Linked DNA regions of Homo sapiens: all the other regions are linked to region 4. Evidence: promoter capture Hi-C in human tissues and cell types (Jung and others, 2019). All regions are on one chromosome and are shown on one strand. The core of a region is centred on a gene start or on the middle of the fragment in contact, and the rest is flanking DNA. Distances in the headings are between cores, read along the strand shown. Region 1 overlaps CSDE1 (cold shock domain containing E1). Region 2 overlaps DENND2C (DENN domain containing 2C). Region 3 overlaps CSDE1 (cold shock domain containing E1). Region 4 holds the start of AP4B1 (adaptor related protein complex 4 subunit beta 1). Region 5 holds the start of BCAS2 (BCAS2 pre-mRNA processing factor).

Region 1 (2,700 bases), core at 197-2,696, 820 kb after region 4:
TCTAACCATCCTCTTGATGATTACAGGGTAAGTGAAGAATTTTTGTCATTGTTATTGTTGAGACAGGGTCTCGCTCTGCTACCCAGGCTGGAGTGCAGTGGCGATCAACGGCTCACTGCAGCCTTGATTTCCTGGGCTCGGGTGATCCTCCCACCTCAGCTCCTGAGTCGCTGGGACTACAGGCACACACCATGACTGGCTAATTTTTGCATTTTTTGTAGAGACAGGGTTTTGCCATGTTGCCCAGGCTGGTCTCAAACTCCTGGGCTCAAGTGATCTGCCCACCTTGGCCTCCCGAAGTGTTGGGTTTACAGGTGTGAGCCACCACACCTGACTTTTTTTTTTTTTTTTGAGACGGAGTCATGCTCTGTTAACCAGGCTGGAGTTCAGTGGCATGATTCAGCTCACTGCAACTTCCGCCTCCCAGGTTCAAGTGATTCTCCTGCCTCAGCCTCTGAAGTAGCTGGGATTATAGGCACCCACCATGATACCTGGCTAATTTTTGTATTTTTAGGAGAGACAGGGTTTCGCCATGTTGGCCAGGCTGGTCTCGAACTCCTGACCTTCAGGTGATCTGCCTGCCTTGGCTTCCCAAAGTGCTGGGATTACAGGTGTGAGCCCCTACTCTCGACCCCAGCTGACTTTTAATTTTAAATACAGGAACCAAAAAACTTTGAGGAGATAATCCAAAGAGATCAAGTCATGGGAAGAGTGATTAGAGGAAGCTGGTCTGACCTCATGCAATATCAATAATTACCATTTATGATGCACATACTGATTCATACTTTATAGAACCATCTAAGGCTGAAGGTATTACCATTTTAAAGATGAAGAAACTGAGCTAGCAAAGATTTAAGTTATTTGTCCAAGATTATATGCTAGAACGGTGTCCAGATCTAGGTCTGCCCAACTTCAAAGTCTTAGTATAAGTTACAGTTGTGTTCCTGAATAAAAGAGCTAGTTCTTACCAAGTGGGAAAATGTAATCTGTCTAGTCCCGGGCTTAGAGATGCCTAAACAAAACCCTTGCTTTGGACTATATCCCACCAGGCTTAGAGATGCCTAAATAAAACCCTTGCTTTGGACTATATCCCACAGCCAGTGCTGAAGAATGAGTGGACTGGGAAGTGGGGATGGAAAAGGAAGTAAAAGCAGCACGTTAGGAGATGGAAGGGCAATTTGATATCATATTATGAGTTAAAGTTAGTAGTCCATACTCCCATGGCCTTTTTAGGGGTGTGATGTCATGGCATTTGTTTAAAAATTCATATTTAGAGGTGGGAGAACAGTGGTTTTATGTAGAACAGAAATTCTAAGAATCCCATGTGGTAAAGGAATAGGTTATCAAGGTTCATTTCCTTCTCCCAAATGACCTGCTATTCAGCACTTTATGTTCGCTGACTCTTAGATGATGCAAGGACTTTATTCTCTTTGTAAACCAAGCCATCATCTTTTCTTTTTAAAATTTTTTTATTATTAGTTTTTTTAATAGTAGAGACGGGGTTTCACCATGCTGGCCAGGCTGGTCACGAACTCCTGGCCTCGTGATCCGCCCGCCTCAGCCTCCCAAAGTGCTGGGATTACAGGCGTGAACCACCACGCCCGGCCTACCAAGCCATCATCTTTGGTTGGAATACTCAAGCCCTCTCATCTACTCCACATCATGTAATTCTGCTATCCTAATCATCTACAGAGTTCTCTCCTATTTCTATCATGTATTTATTTTATGCATACAGATCATACAAAGTTGGCCTTTCTGATGGTGACTGTTGGGGGAACAGCGGCACTGGAACTCTGGGAATTCTTGAAGATAGATGGGGAAAAAAGAAGAAGAAAGTAGAGAATGAAAGGAAGCCTGAGCTAGAAACGAGAAATAGGATCCTCATAGAACTCTAGCTATTAAGAAACAGATTATGTACATATGTGTAGTGTAGGGGGGAAAAAAACAGTAAACTTTTACAGGAAGCAAAAATACAGAACTGAATGCTTACTGATTTAAATACTAATGAAGGAACTGAATATTTGATTATCATACACTCAACAGTAAAAGCTTTGGTTATCAGAGTTTGTTGTTAAGTCTATCTCAATATAACTCATAGTTGCTCATGTATCAGTCATGTGCTCACAAAGCAGTCACGTTTTCACTATTTAAACCCAGACTGACCTCATTTTCAAGGGGTATAAAAATAAAAAGCAAGCATGAGAGAGGTCACTTTTCCTTAATTCAGTTTTAAACCTAAAAACAACTGCAATAAGCACCATATTTTAAAACTTTATAGGTGCTCATCTGAAGTTATGGCAAATTTCAAACAGCCTGATAGTGATGATCCTTACCCTCCTCCACAATCTCAATCATTCCTTGGTACTCAGTCTGTGTTGGATCAACACTCCTCAGGGGGCGAATTACTTTGCCAGAGTAAATGGTGGGATCAGCTTCCTCAGTAATGCCATTCACTACAAAACAAAGGCAGGTACATCTTTCAATTTTATTTCATCTCTACTACATAGAAAGACAAGTAAGCAAAAAATAACAGCACAAATGTTAACAGGGTAGGTTGGCTGGCTGCTATTGAAATGGGGTAGGGAACCTGAAGCCAAGTTCTATTTTTAGAACAGCTGCTGGACTTTAAATACTTCTAAACTACCAAAATGCCTGCTTTTCCTAAATAGAATTGTTTAAATAAAATTGTTTAAGGAATTA
Region 2 (2,700 bases), core at 50-2,549, 760 kb after region 4:
AAATATACCCATACAGCTGTGGTTAAATTTAAACAACAAGAAAATCCTGCCGGGCGTGGTGTCTCATGCCTGTAATCCCTGCACTTTGGGAGGCCGAGGCAGGCAGATCACAAGGTCAGGAGTTTGAGACCAGCCTGACCAACATGGTGAAACCCTGTCTCTACTAAAAATACAAAAATCAGCCGGGCATGGTGGCTCGCACCTGTAATCCCAGTTACTCAGGAGGTTGAGGCAGGAGAATCGCTTGAACCCGGGAGGCGGAGGTTGCAGTGAGCCGGTATTGTGCCACTGTGCACCTGGGCGACAGAGCGAGACTCCGTCTCAAAAAAAAAAAAAAAAAAAAGAAAAGAAAATCCTCCTTATTATCTTCACTACCTAAAAGCACAGTACAACTTACAATATCAGCGACCCCATCGATTTGGATTGCAAAATCTGCACCAGACTCTACCCATCTTGCAAGCACTGCTGAAATGTCCAATAATGGTAAAGAATAGAGCTATGTCATCACTAAGAAGTATAATTTTTAATTTCCAGCTGATTTAGCATCAAAAATCATGAGCACAACTTCCATGAATTATAGATGAATACTTTTTTCAAGAGATATGTAGCCATTTTTCCCTTATGCCACTGATACACAACTAAATGAGACAATAATCTTTCTCAGGAATGATTCTTGAATAAATAGGAAACTGAGATAACTTTATCTCTTTTTCTTTCTTTGAAAATATTTGAAAGGGCTTATTTAAAAGTCCAGTATGCTATGTTTCCAAGAATCTTTTTAACTTTAAAGGTTTTTAATTTTCATTTGCAACATTATATGAAGACATGGGTCTGTCATTTTACTCAGATTTTGCCCATTTGACAAAGCCATATTTTAAATAATCTTCATTGAAAGTCTTAATAGTTTTTCTCAGGTGACCATTTCCCTCAATATTTTTGTTCTTCCAGATCCAGTCATTGCACATACCTCTGTATTTTTTACTTCGTTTTTTTCTTCTAATAATGAAACAACAAATTTGAAAGGCAAATTGATCCAATTTGATTTAAAAATACAATTATCACCAGACTCTTGAAAATATCACACTTGACGAATGCAAAGTTCAAAAATAAAATTTGGTTCAACGACTCACCATTTTTAACAACAGCAGACAAAATTCTCCCACTCTTTGCTCAACCCTGATTTATGTCAATAAAACTATACATTGATAGCTATCACATTACACTCATGATTAAATTGACCATCACTCTAATTCACATAATTTTCCCCTTTTGTTCCAATTACCCCTTATAGTTTAAATAGGGCCCAGGGAAAAGGAAATTTTCAGTAAATACTGTTGTGGAGCAGCCTATGTCATTTCCTCACAGAAGGCTCTATTATTATAGCCTTAATAGATCCTTATTTAATCAGAATATCAAAGAGTACAGATAAATATTTAAATACAAAATTATGCTTTACACTGCTAAGTAACCAATTCAAACACATCCCACACAGCTGGGAGATTTTGTTTTTTACTCCAACAGAAAAAAAGACAGAGAAAAATGCAAATCCCTTTTAAGTAGCAGCAAAAATAACTCTCTCTCTCCCCCACCAATCTGTCCCTGAATTTTAACATCCAAACAAAAAATCCGCAAATATGTCATTTCTATGAATTCAAACTTGAAGGAAAAAAAATAATAATTTCTCTCCATATCCTTTGTTGTAAATATTTATCACTGCTATGAAAACTACGAAAGTTAGACATTTAACTTTAAAAAGTACAGCACAACCTTCAAATAATATAAATGGATTAATATTGCCAGAACTAAATGCTAAAAACTCTGTTTTCACGCCACTAACCAGAAGTCTAAGATTCATAAGAAAAAAAAAAAAATCTTGAATTTATTCCTCAAAAATAGGGGCCAGGCATAATGGCTTCGTACCCCCAGCGCTTTGGGAGGCTGAGATGGGAGGATCCCGAGGTCGGGAGTTCAAGCCCAACCTAGACAACGTATTGAGACCCCATCTCTACAAAAAGTTTTTTAAAAAATTAGCCAGTCTTGGTGGCGTGCACCTGTAATGCGAGCTAACTGGGAGGCTGAGGTGGAGGGATCGTGTGAGCCCAGGGGTTGGAGGCTGCAGTGAACTATGATTGTGCCACTGCACTCCAGCCTGGGTGACAGAGAAAGACCAAGAAAAGAAAAGGAAAAGGAAGAAGGAAGAGGGAAAAGGAAAGGGAGGAAGGAAAAAAATGGGTAAATACCTGGAATAGATAGATGTGAAAAAGTCAGTCCTTTAAATTTTTTTCTCTTATCATCATCTACTTAATCCTTCAGTCTTATAATTTGCTATACTGCTTATAAAGTGAAGACATTATCATGTTTTCTTTTCTTTAGGATAAAACTTATTCATTCAGGGCAGAAGAAAAAGAGAATAAAATTCCATCCTGTCCAACCCTCTGGGAACCAGTGCAGAATACCCCTTCAAATTTATCTTTTATTTCACCCAGGTTTCAATGTCCCCACTTTCACTGAAGCGAAAAGATCAATGTTTTATTGATTCAGTAAAGAACACTGAATATCAAAAAACATTTTTCAAACATACTTTTTTATTCTGACTCTGTACAAGTTAATCTATTTCTCTGTATCTAAAGTTCCAAACCAGTAAAGGGAGTATTTTCCATTTAAATGAGAAATGGGGGATGAATGAAAATGTTTTAATTA
Region 3 (2,700 bases), core at 101-2,600, 840 kb after region 4:
CAGCGCTAAAAATGGCAAATGTGGGAACAGAATCCAGTTCTGACTCCATTCTTAACCACTGCCTTATTCATTCAACCACAATTAAGTTCATACAATGCATCAGCATTATTTTAGGTTCTACTCATATAGTAGGTAACACAACAGACAAATATCTCCAGCCTCATAAAGTTTAGACCTTCTACCCTTTTCTACATATTTACTTTTAAACTGAAAAAGTCATTGACAAAATTAGTCCTCCTTTAATAAAAGCAGAAATGGAACAAATCTCAGGTCAAATTTAAACTTCATTTGTAACTCAAGAAATTGATTAAAGTTCCCTGAAGAACATAAAAGTCAAAAGACTGGCTTTCAGTCCTGACTCTCAAGTACTTTTAACATCTCTGGGATTTTTTCCTCAAAAGTAAAGTGGGAGCACCTAACTGGTTTCCAAGTTCCTTTGGGGAGAGGGGGTGGAAATCTATGCTTTGTAATTTATTACAACATCTAAGTTGTTTTTCCCCCCTAATCTGGTCTGCTTGGCTTCTACTGATTGACAATCAATTTGGAAAAGGTAGCCTATTTCACCATAAGATCTTTAGAAAACTACTCTGTATTCTCAGACATACCTCCCCTTGACTTCCACTGTTTCTTCCAATTTTCTGAACACAACCATTTTTAACACTAATTGCTGTCTTCTGGATAGGTTCTAAGTAATTATTCATTAAAGTGCATTTCACTACTATTCTTAATGTACCCGACCAATATAAAGTACTGAGTGATTACACTCCTTGATTCTGTAGACTGAAGTTTTATAACTTTGTAAAACTAAAACACATCCCCATCATTTCTTCACAAATCACATTAGCGAAATCAGGTTTTCTTTCAGTTCCTCCGTAATGGATCGTTTGTTCCCAAATAAAAAAACTATAACCTAATGCTTTTAAAATGCCTTCTGTTGGTTAATCTAGTATTCCAATTTGGTGACTAATTTTAAATTATCAGACTCTTTGTAGTTTATCTTTTAATCATTCATTCTCCTACCTTAACACCTGTCTCACAGAGTTGTTGAGATGGTTAAATGAGTTGCTGCACGTAAAAAGCCTAAAATAAGTGCTTACGTAGCACATAGGTACTCACAGAACTACTCATTAGGTCTCTGAAAAAAGCAGGGCGAGGATAGCATCTGGCAGCATACACCTGGAGACTTCTCTAAAATCAGTCTCTTACTAACTGCTATCCATCCAACATTTCTCCATATTGACCATTATGCTATCATGAGCTAGTCTGCCAAGTTATTTATTCACTGGCTCTGGGGTTTTTGCTAGGGATGAAAAGTAAGCTCAATAGTTCCCACATCTGACTGAAAAATCAGGACATTTACAGTTCCTGTCATAGGTCTCTATTTGACTACTATCACACACCTAGCAACTAGCACCCTAGCAACCGCCAAGTAATCCTGTTATTTTCTCACTCATCTGGGGCCTCAGTTTTCTCTTGCTTTGCTATGTTTCAAGTATGAAAATTATTGCATTCAGCAGAAAAAACTAGGAGCGCGACAGGAATTTTCTAGTTTTGCTTTTCTCTTGTCTGTCACCTTTAGACTAACCTGGATCAAATCATTCACCAAACAATTCAGGTCTATTTTCACATCTCAAACAAATGCTTTATAAGCCTTATTCTTTCTTGCCATTTTATGGCTAATTCTACCCTTCTATATATATTTGTTCCTAATTACGTACTATTTTTACTGATTTTACAAAACCCCCCTTTAAAATCTGGGGGTTCCATTGCATTACCAAATCTGTTTTCTTAGCTGTGTGCCCCCTTTAACTGAACTATTTCACAACTGTACAACCACAGCCATGTTTTACTGCCAATAATCTTCATCCCAATTGTGGTTTCTTTGTACATATGTAAACATGTAATTTTTAGACAGCTATGGATGCATTTATATATTAAAATGTTCATGTAGTAAACTAATATTCAGAATACAAAGATTACACTAAACAAAAAGGACTTCGTTAAATCTATTTCTATAAATCATGTCAATGAAATGAAAGCCTTAATATCTAATCTTGCCAGGCACGGTGGCTCATGCCTGTAATCCCAGCACTTTGGGAGGCCGAGGCGGGTGGATCACAAGGTCAGGAATTCAAAACCAGACTGGCCAACACGGTGAAACCCCGTCTCTACTAAAAATACAAAAATAAGCCAGGCATGGTGATGCGCGCCTGTAATTTCAGCTACTCAGGAGACTGAGGCAGAAGAATCACCTGAACCTGGGAGGCAGAGGCTGCAGTGAGCCAAGATCACCCCACTGCACTCCAGCCTTGGCGACAGAGCAAGACTCTGTCTCAGAGAGGAAAAAAAAAAAAATCTAATCTTTTATGCTTCAGAACATAAAATTGTGGTTTCAATTTGTGTTAATCTTCCCTATCTAATCCAACAGAATCCACAACAATTAGTCTAAAATTATTTTTTAAAAATCAGCTAAGGTAAGAAGAAACAAATAGAAAAACTAAATGCTACAATTACCTTAAAATTAAATAACAGTGTCTGTTTATGAGACATAGATAATTTTACTATAGTTTTTAGTTGTTAAGGAATAATTCTAGTGCACAGCAAGGTCACTGACACTATTACATAATCCTTCAATAAATTGGAAATAAAGTCCTAAGCGCTTCTTGAAATAGCAGTGAAGCTTTTGTAACTGAATGACTT
Region 4 (2,700 bases), core at 61-2,560:
TTAATGAGCCAGATGAGAATACCGTTAATTACAGTATGATAGATAAGTACTTAAACAGAAGTATTGTACAAGGTGTAGAGGGGATTCAGAGGTCTGACACTGGCAGGAAGTCAGAAAATGTTTCTTCACAGAGGAAGTAATACTTTAGCTGAATGAGCAGGAGCTCACTAGGCAGATGTAATAGCAAGGTAAAGATACATGCTATGAGGTAAGTAGACATGAGCAGGAGCAGCACACATTTTTTTAAGAGTCTGTAGGTAGTTGAATTAACAGCTTGTTCCTTGGGTGCTGTGATAAGTTTGGACTTTATTGTTTCTCAGACTGGTCTCCTACTGGAACCAACTGAAATGTTTATTAAAAATACAGATTCCTGGGTTCCCTCCCACCCTACTGAAATCAGAATCAGTCCCTGGACTGGATGACAAAAAGCACCCCAAGGGATTTTTATGCATAGTAAAGTTTGTGAACCATAGCTGTAGGCAAGAGTTATGTGTTCAGGTATGTATAATGGAAAAATTCTGTCTCAAATGAGGCAAAGTGGCCTACTAGTAAGCTGCTGCAATTGCTTTATTGATGAAGGCCTGGACCAGAACAACAATGCTAATAAACAAGAGAGGATGGATATTTAGAATTATGAATTCAAACCATCTGACATAAGAAGTGAGAGATCAGGTGTCCTCAAGGTTGGCTCCCACGCATAGTCGGCTGCTGGTGGCATTCATCAACACAAATGTAAGCTGAACAGGTTTGAGGAAGACGGAAGAATGTCCGGGCTATTTCGGACATACTTTTGATAAACCACGCACGTGGAAATGCCAAGCAGGCAGTGGGATACGTGGGTCTGAAGCTAAAAAAGGAAGTCTGTACTAGCTATATTATAGATCCAAGAGTCACCAGTAATTGCTCAAGCCCGTGATATGGAGGAAACTACCCAGCTGAGTAAAAGATGCTGCAGAGGGGAGACTGACATGGTACTCCAAAGCAGCAGGACGAAGACCGAACCATATAACTGCCACGTGTGAAAGCTAATTCACCCTTTCAGAGAGACTGGGGCTAGTGAGCCCTGATGGGGATTGCAAAGGGAGCAGTTAGCACGCGAAGGGAGGTAGGTGATACCTAATCACTCGCTGGATGACATTCCGGTAGCGCAGCCTATCAGCTTGAATGTGAGGATTGCACAGAGCCTTCTTCAGCTCCTTCACCACGTCCTCGGAGCCAAGGTACGGCATCTTCCTAAGAGTCACAGGGCAGCTCCCACAGCTCCCACGGTAACTCGAGGGCTCCTTCTCGTCCTGATGTGGGAGCCTGAGTAAAGGAAATATGAGTCAGTGAAAATACAAAAGGCGAGATCTCGCCTCAGGCTCGGCTTCCGTAGGGCCGGCACGCTGGCCCTGACACACTTCCACGCCCTCCGCGACACCGCGAGCCCCACCCTAGGCTCTTCAGGCCCTACCGTCGGCCGGCAGGCCGTTCGCCCCGCCCACAGATCGCTCCCGCTACTTCTAGGTCCTCCGCCGGATTTCCAGCGCCGCGTCCGACTGACCGCAGACCCCTCCCTCTCCAGTTCCAGCCTTAATTCCCCCTCCACGCCGTTCTCATCGCGGATAGGCCCAATCTTGCTTTCTGCGGAAGTCCCGCCCCCTTGTCAAGAGACCAAACAGAAGACCGCTGCCGGTCTCCCCGCGAGCGAGCGCTAAGCGTAGTCCCGACTCCGACCTTAGGATGCCCTTCCCCCAACCTCTCACTCTCCAGGCGCAGCTGCGCGGCTCCCTCTGGTGGAGCTGCGGCGGGCAATCGGAAATCGGCTACTTTGGCCTGTCTCCTCCCTGCAGCGCGCGCTTTGAGTGCCCGGCTCGGCCTCCGCTCCCGCGCGGTTGGGAGTGTCCAGCGCCCTCCGCGATTTGGGCTCCAGCGGGCAGGGTGACTTCCTTTTTCTGCCCACTCTGGTAACTTATTGCTCTGCTGGGCTCTTTCCCTTAGGGTCTCTGGCCCTGTTCTTGCCCCAGCATGACTTTTATCGGGACGCCGTTGTGGAAGCCTCACGCAGGAGCCCTGCCCCCGTGGAGAAGATCCCACTGGTGACTCCAACCCTACCACCATGAATGGGGTCCTGATCCCCCATACGCCCATCGCAGTGGACTTCTGGAGCCTGCGCCGGGCTGGCACCGCACGTCTCTTCTTCTTGTCTCACATGCACTCGGACCACACCGTGGGCCTGTCTAGCACCTGGGCCCGGCCCCTCTACTGCTCCCCAATTACAGCCCACCTCTTGCATCGTCACCTACAGGTATGGGGCTGGAGTCGGTCTCCGAGAGCTGGTCCAGGCATCTGGGTTGGGACTTCAACCTGTCATTCTTGGAGTCATAGAATGGGGGCCACGAAAACTGATTTGGAAGTTGTTTGAACCCAAAAATGCATCTTTAACCCAGAATAGGAACGTGTTTTCGAAGTGACCAACTTGAGATAGTTAGCCATAAGTTGAGGAGATATTTTAATCCAGCCAAGGAAACTATTCCTACCTTTATAAGTAAGCTAGGCCGATGTTTCCCAAACTTGCCTTTTTTTTTTTTTTTTTTTTTTTTTTTTGAGACGGAGTCTCGCTCTGTTGCCCAGGCTGGAGTGCAGTGGCGCAATCTCGGCTCACTGCAGCCTCCGCCTCCCGGGTTCAAGCGATTCTCCTGTCTCGGCCTCCTGAGTAGC
Region 5 (2,700 bases), core at 16-2,515, 680 kb after region 4:
CATTTAGCTAACTAGACCCTAACTAGAATCCTGGGTGTACTTCAAGGTTATACATTTAAAATAGTATCATACTCAATGTGTGGAGTAGAACAGCATCTGACTCCTTAGGCAATCATGGACACTCCCTTCTCTAATCCTCTTGTCCTTATACATACCCTCCGCTATAGGTCCTTTACATATTATTACACATTTATACATACTATTGTAAACTTTTTGTTTTATATATCTAGCTCCTCACTGTATTGTATTTTTCTGTATTCAGAAACCCTATCTTTTTTGGAGAGGATGTTTGTCTTAAATAAAGAAAAGAAAAATTAAAAGAAAACAAAATATATTAAAAAAGAAACCCCATATATCTCTATGATCTCAGAATCTAGAATGGCACCTAGCACTTGTAAAGTATTCATATCAGTGAAAATTATTGCCTACATTAATCAGAAATGTGTTAATAAAAACATCGGATAGATTACAGAAAAAAGGAGAAGGCTGAGAAAAAAGTAGTATACACTTGGATATGGTTTGTCCTTTCAGTCGTATCACATACATTTGGTAAATAACTAGACTTTAATATGCCACTCTCCAGTGGTTCTAAAGAGCTTAGGTAATTAGGCTTATACATATTAAAAAACCCTAGATCACTTGCTGTAGAGTGAATCTTGGCAGGAGAGGGTCCCTTTGAGAATTTACGCATGGATCCTATCTCAAAGAATGGTAGCCACAAATTTTTGCATTAAGTGAGTTGTGGAGCCCCAGAAAGTCTTCCTATGGATCTTAGAATAAGAACCTCGGAGAAGACTTATCTATCTAGTTGTTTTCAATAGACTGACACCTATACAGTAGGTAAGTAGTAGCTATGCAGGCAATGGTTAAAACTGGAATTTAAAGCTCTCAATCCAAAATAAAGGTTCACAGGAATTCTCGTTCACACCTAGGCTCAAGACATACTTACTTCAAAGGCAGAATAATCCGGGGCTGTCAGGTAGCTCAGGTAGTTCTTAGTAGGTCGGTATCTGCGAGTTTCCTCCTCCACCAGCGCTGCAGCCTAAGAAAGAGAATAGGGACCAGGGTAGAAGTGGCAAATTGTAACATGTTTCTTTCAGTACCGAGCCAGCTAGCAGTGAGTCAGCTACAAAGACACCCCGCACTCACCGCTTCCCGCACACCAGGGGCTTCATAACCTTGATCAAAATACGGCAGCGCATCCACCACAACCTCTCCAGCCACCAAACCTGTGCCCGCCATTCTGAGGACCTCAGGTTTGCCTGCGTTTTCTGCGTCTGCGTAAACTCAGTTATATTTAATTACGCCGGCGCCTGACACTGATGTAATCACGTTCCCTCCGTATTGACGTTAGTGCATGCTCAGTTGCTAATTTTGAAGGCGGGTCCGCCCGGTATCTAGAAATTGCCGGGCTGGTTTGTTTTGGGCGGACGTGACGTAACGTCTTGGCTTGTCTGCGTCAGCGAAAGGCCTCAATTTCCTGTCCTCTGCTTACTGCCCCTTTTTTTGCCTGCGAATGGCGGCGATTTGAAGTTGGGGCTTTTCGTTTCCTCCAAAACATTGATATCTGGAAAGGGAGCCCCTTAACACTTTTGGAGGGAACTGGCTGCAGCATTTGGCGGGGAGAGATAAACTGGTTTCCCACCTCTGCTTACTCCCACCTTCTCCCCTTAATCTTCTCTTCCTCTGTGCGAGACTTTTTTCCTTTTTTATTGTAGACACAGGGTCTTTGTTCTGCTGCCCAGGTTGGAGTGCAGTGGCGTGATCATAGCTCACTGCAGCCTCAACCCCCCGGGCCCAAGCGATCCTTCCACCTCAGCCTCCCGAGTAGCTGGGCCTAGAGGTGCACACCACCATGCCTGGCTAATTTTTAATTTTTTTTGTAGAGATGGAGCCTTTCTATGTTGCCAAGCCTAGCCTCGAACTCCTGGCCTCCCAAAATGTGGGGAATACAGGCGTGAGCCACTGCACCCCGGGTCATTCCTCTTTTACTTCCTTGCTGTACCCCAACTATCCTTCCCCCTCGGTGCCCTTAAAACCTTTGCATTGGGTAAGTACATTTTTTAAAGAGACTCTAGAATTGGGCGCCAGTCTCCAATTAAAATTGTGAAGCTTTATGGTCTGCGTATCAAAAGGAACCTCAGTTCCTTAAAAATCCTGTCATTTTGCCTTTAGGACTTAACGGTAATAGAATGGCATTCCTCACTGCCTCCGAACCACTCAAGCTGCTGCCCATGCACTCTCTTCTGCATGGCTCCTGGACTAAGCAGCCTCCCTTTGATTAAGCAGGTAAAAACCAAATAAAGTTGTCAGACTATATGCCCTGCCCAGTGTGCAGTCTAGACCCAGCCTTTGTCTGCCAAGAGCCTGGAAATGTTGACCTCCGTTATTAAGCCTGGTCAGTCTAAGACTAATTCTTATTACCGAAGTACCATTAGGTAAATGTGCTAGCTATAGATTTAAGTGACATAAAAGATCTTAAAGAATTCTCCAAGGGATCTGTGGGGGGTTTATGTATTTATTCATTAAAAGATCTGTAAACAACATTTTATACAAATCTTGATTCTTTTACAAAAATATCCAGAATTCCTAACACTTTACAGAAAACACAACAGACCTAAGGAAATGAAGCAGCTTCAGGCTGCGAGGATGAAGACACCATTGCTGAAGCAAAGGTCTCCTCCTAGAGGGATAGCCAGG

What was found. The method cuts DNA at HindIII sites, captures the fragments that hold promoters and counts their contacts. A contact is called where the count stands out against the background at its distance.
Region 1: a contact is called between a fragment that was not itself captured here and the fragment with the promoter of AP4B1 in region 4, in 1 of the 25 tissues and cell types used here (dorsolateral prefrontal cortex).
Region 2: a contact is called between a fragment that was not itself captured here and the fragment with the promoter of AP4B1 in region 4, in 1 of the 25 tissues and cell types used here (liver).
Region 3: a contact is called between a fragment that was not itself captured here and the fragment with the promoter of AP4B1 in region 4, in 1 of the 25 tissues and cell types used here (hippocampus).
Region 5: the fragment with the promoter of BCAS2 here is called in contact with the fragment with the promoter of AP4B1 in region 4 in 1 of the 25 tissues and cell types used here (hippocampus).

What each region holds. Positions count from the first base shown.
Region 1 is chr1:114,721,550-114,724,249 of GRCh38, forward strand. It overlaps CSDE1 (cold shock domain containing E1), which reads right to left. Exons shown (of 20, transcript NM_001007553.3): 16 at 2,334-2,453. Among named protein-coding and RNA genes, the nearest start is that of NRAS, 6.1 kb to the left of the region's middle. The HindIII fragment of the contact is 4,950 bases long and covers 1-2,700 here.
Region 2 is chr1:114,660,784-114,663,483 of GRCh38, forward strand. All of the region lies in intron 1 of DENND2C (DENN domain containing 2C), which reads right to left. Among named protein-coding and RNA genes, the nearest start is that of DENND2C, 7.9 kb to the right of the region's middle. The HindIII fragment of the contact is 3,641 bases long and covers 1-2,700 here.
Region 3 is chr1:114,745,523-114,748,222 of GRCh38, forward strand. All of the region lies in intron 2 of CSDE1 (cold shock domain containing E1), which reads right to left. Among named protein-coding and RNA genes, the nearest start is that of CSDE1, 11 kb to the right of the region's middle. The HindIII fragment of the contact is 6,146 bases long and covers 1-2,700 here.
Region 4 is chr1:113,903,489-113,906,188 of GRCh38, forward strand. It overlaps AP4B1 (adaptor related protein complex 4 subunit beta 1), which reads right to left and starts at 1,311. Exons shown (of 10, transcript NM_001253852.3): 1 at 1,117-1,311. The coding sequence starts at 1,229. DCLRE1B (DNA cross-link repair 1B) reads left to right here and starts at 1,838. Exons shown (of 4, transcript NM_022836.4): 1 at 1,838-2,287. The coding sequence starts at 2,099. RefSeq lists enhancers at 947-1,006, 1,087-1,646, 1,677-1,726. The HindIII fragment of the contact is 11,361 bases long and covers 1-2,700 here.
Region 5 is chr1:114,580,350-114,583,049 of GRCh38, forward strand. BCAS2 (BCAS2 pre-mRNA processing factor) reads right to left here and starts at 1,266. Exons shown (of 7, transcript NM_005872.3): 1 at 1,150-1,266; 2 at 950-1,042. The coding sequence starts at 1,242. It overlaps DENND2C (DENN domain containing 2C), which reads right to left. Exons shown (of 21, transcript NM_001256404.2): 21 at 2,501-2,700. It overlaps LOC105378914 (a long non-coding RNA gene), which reads left to right and starts at 1,494. Exons shown (of 3, transcript XR_947719.4): 1 at 1,494-2,050; 2 at 2,176-2,289. The HindIII fragment of the contact is 13,820 bases long and covers 1-2,700 here.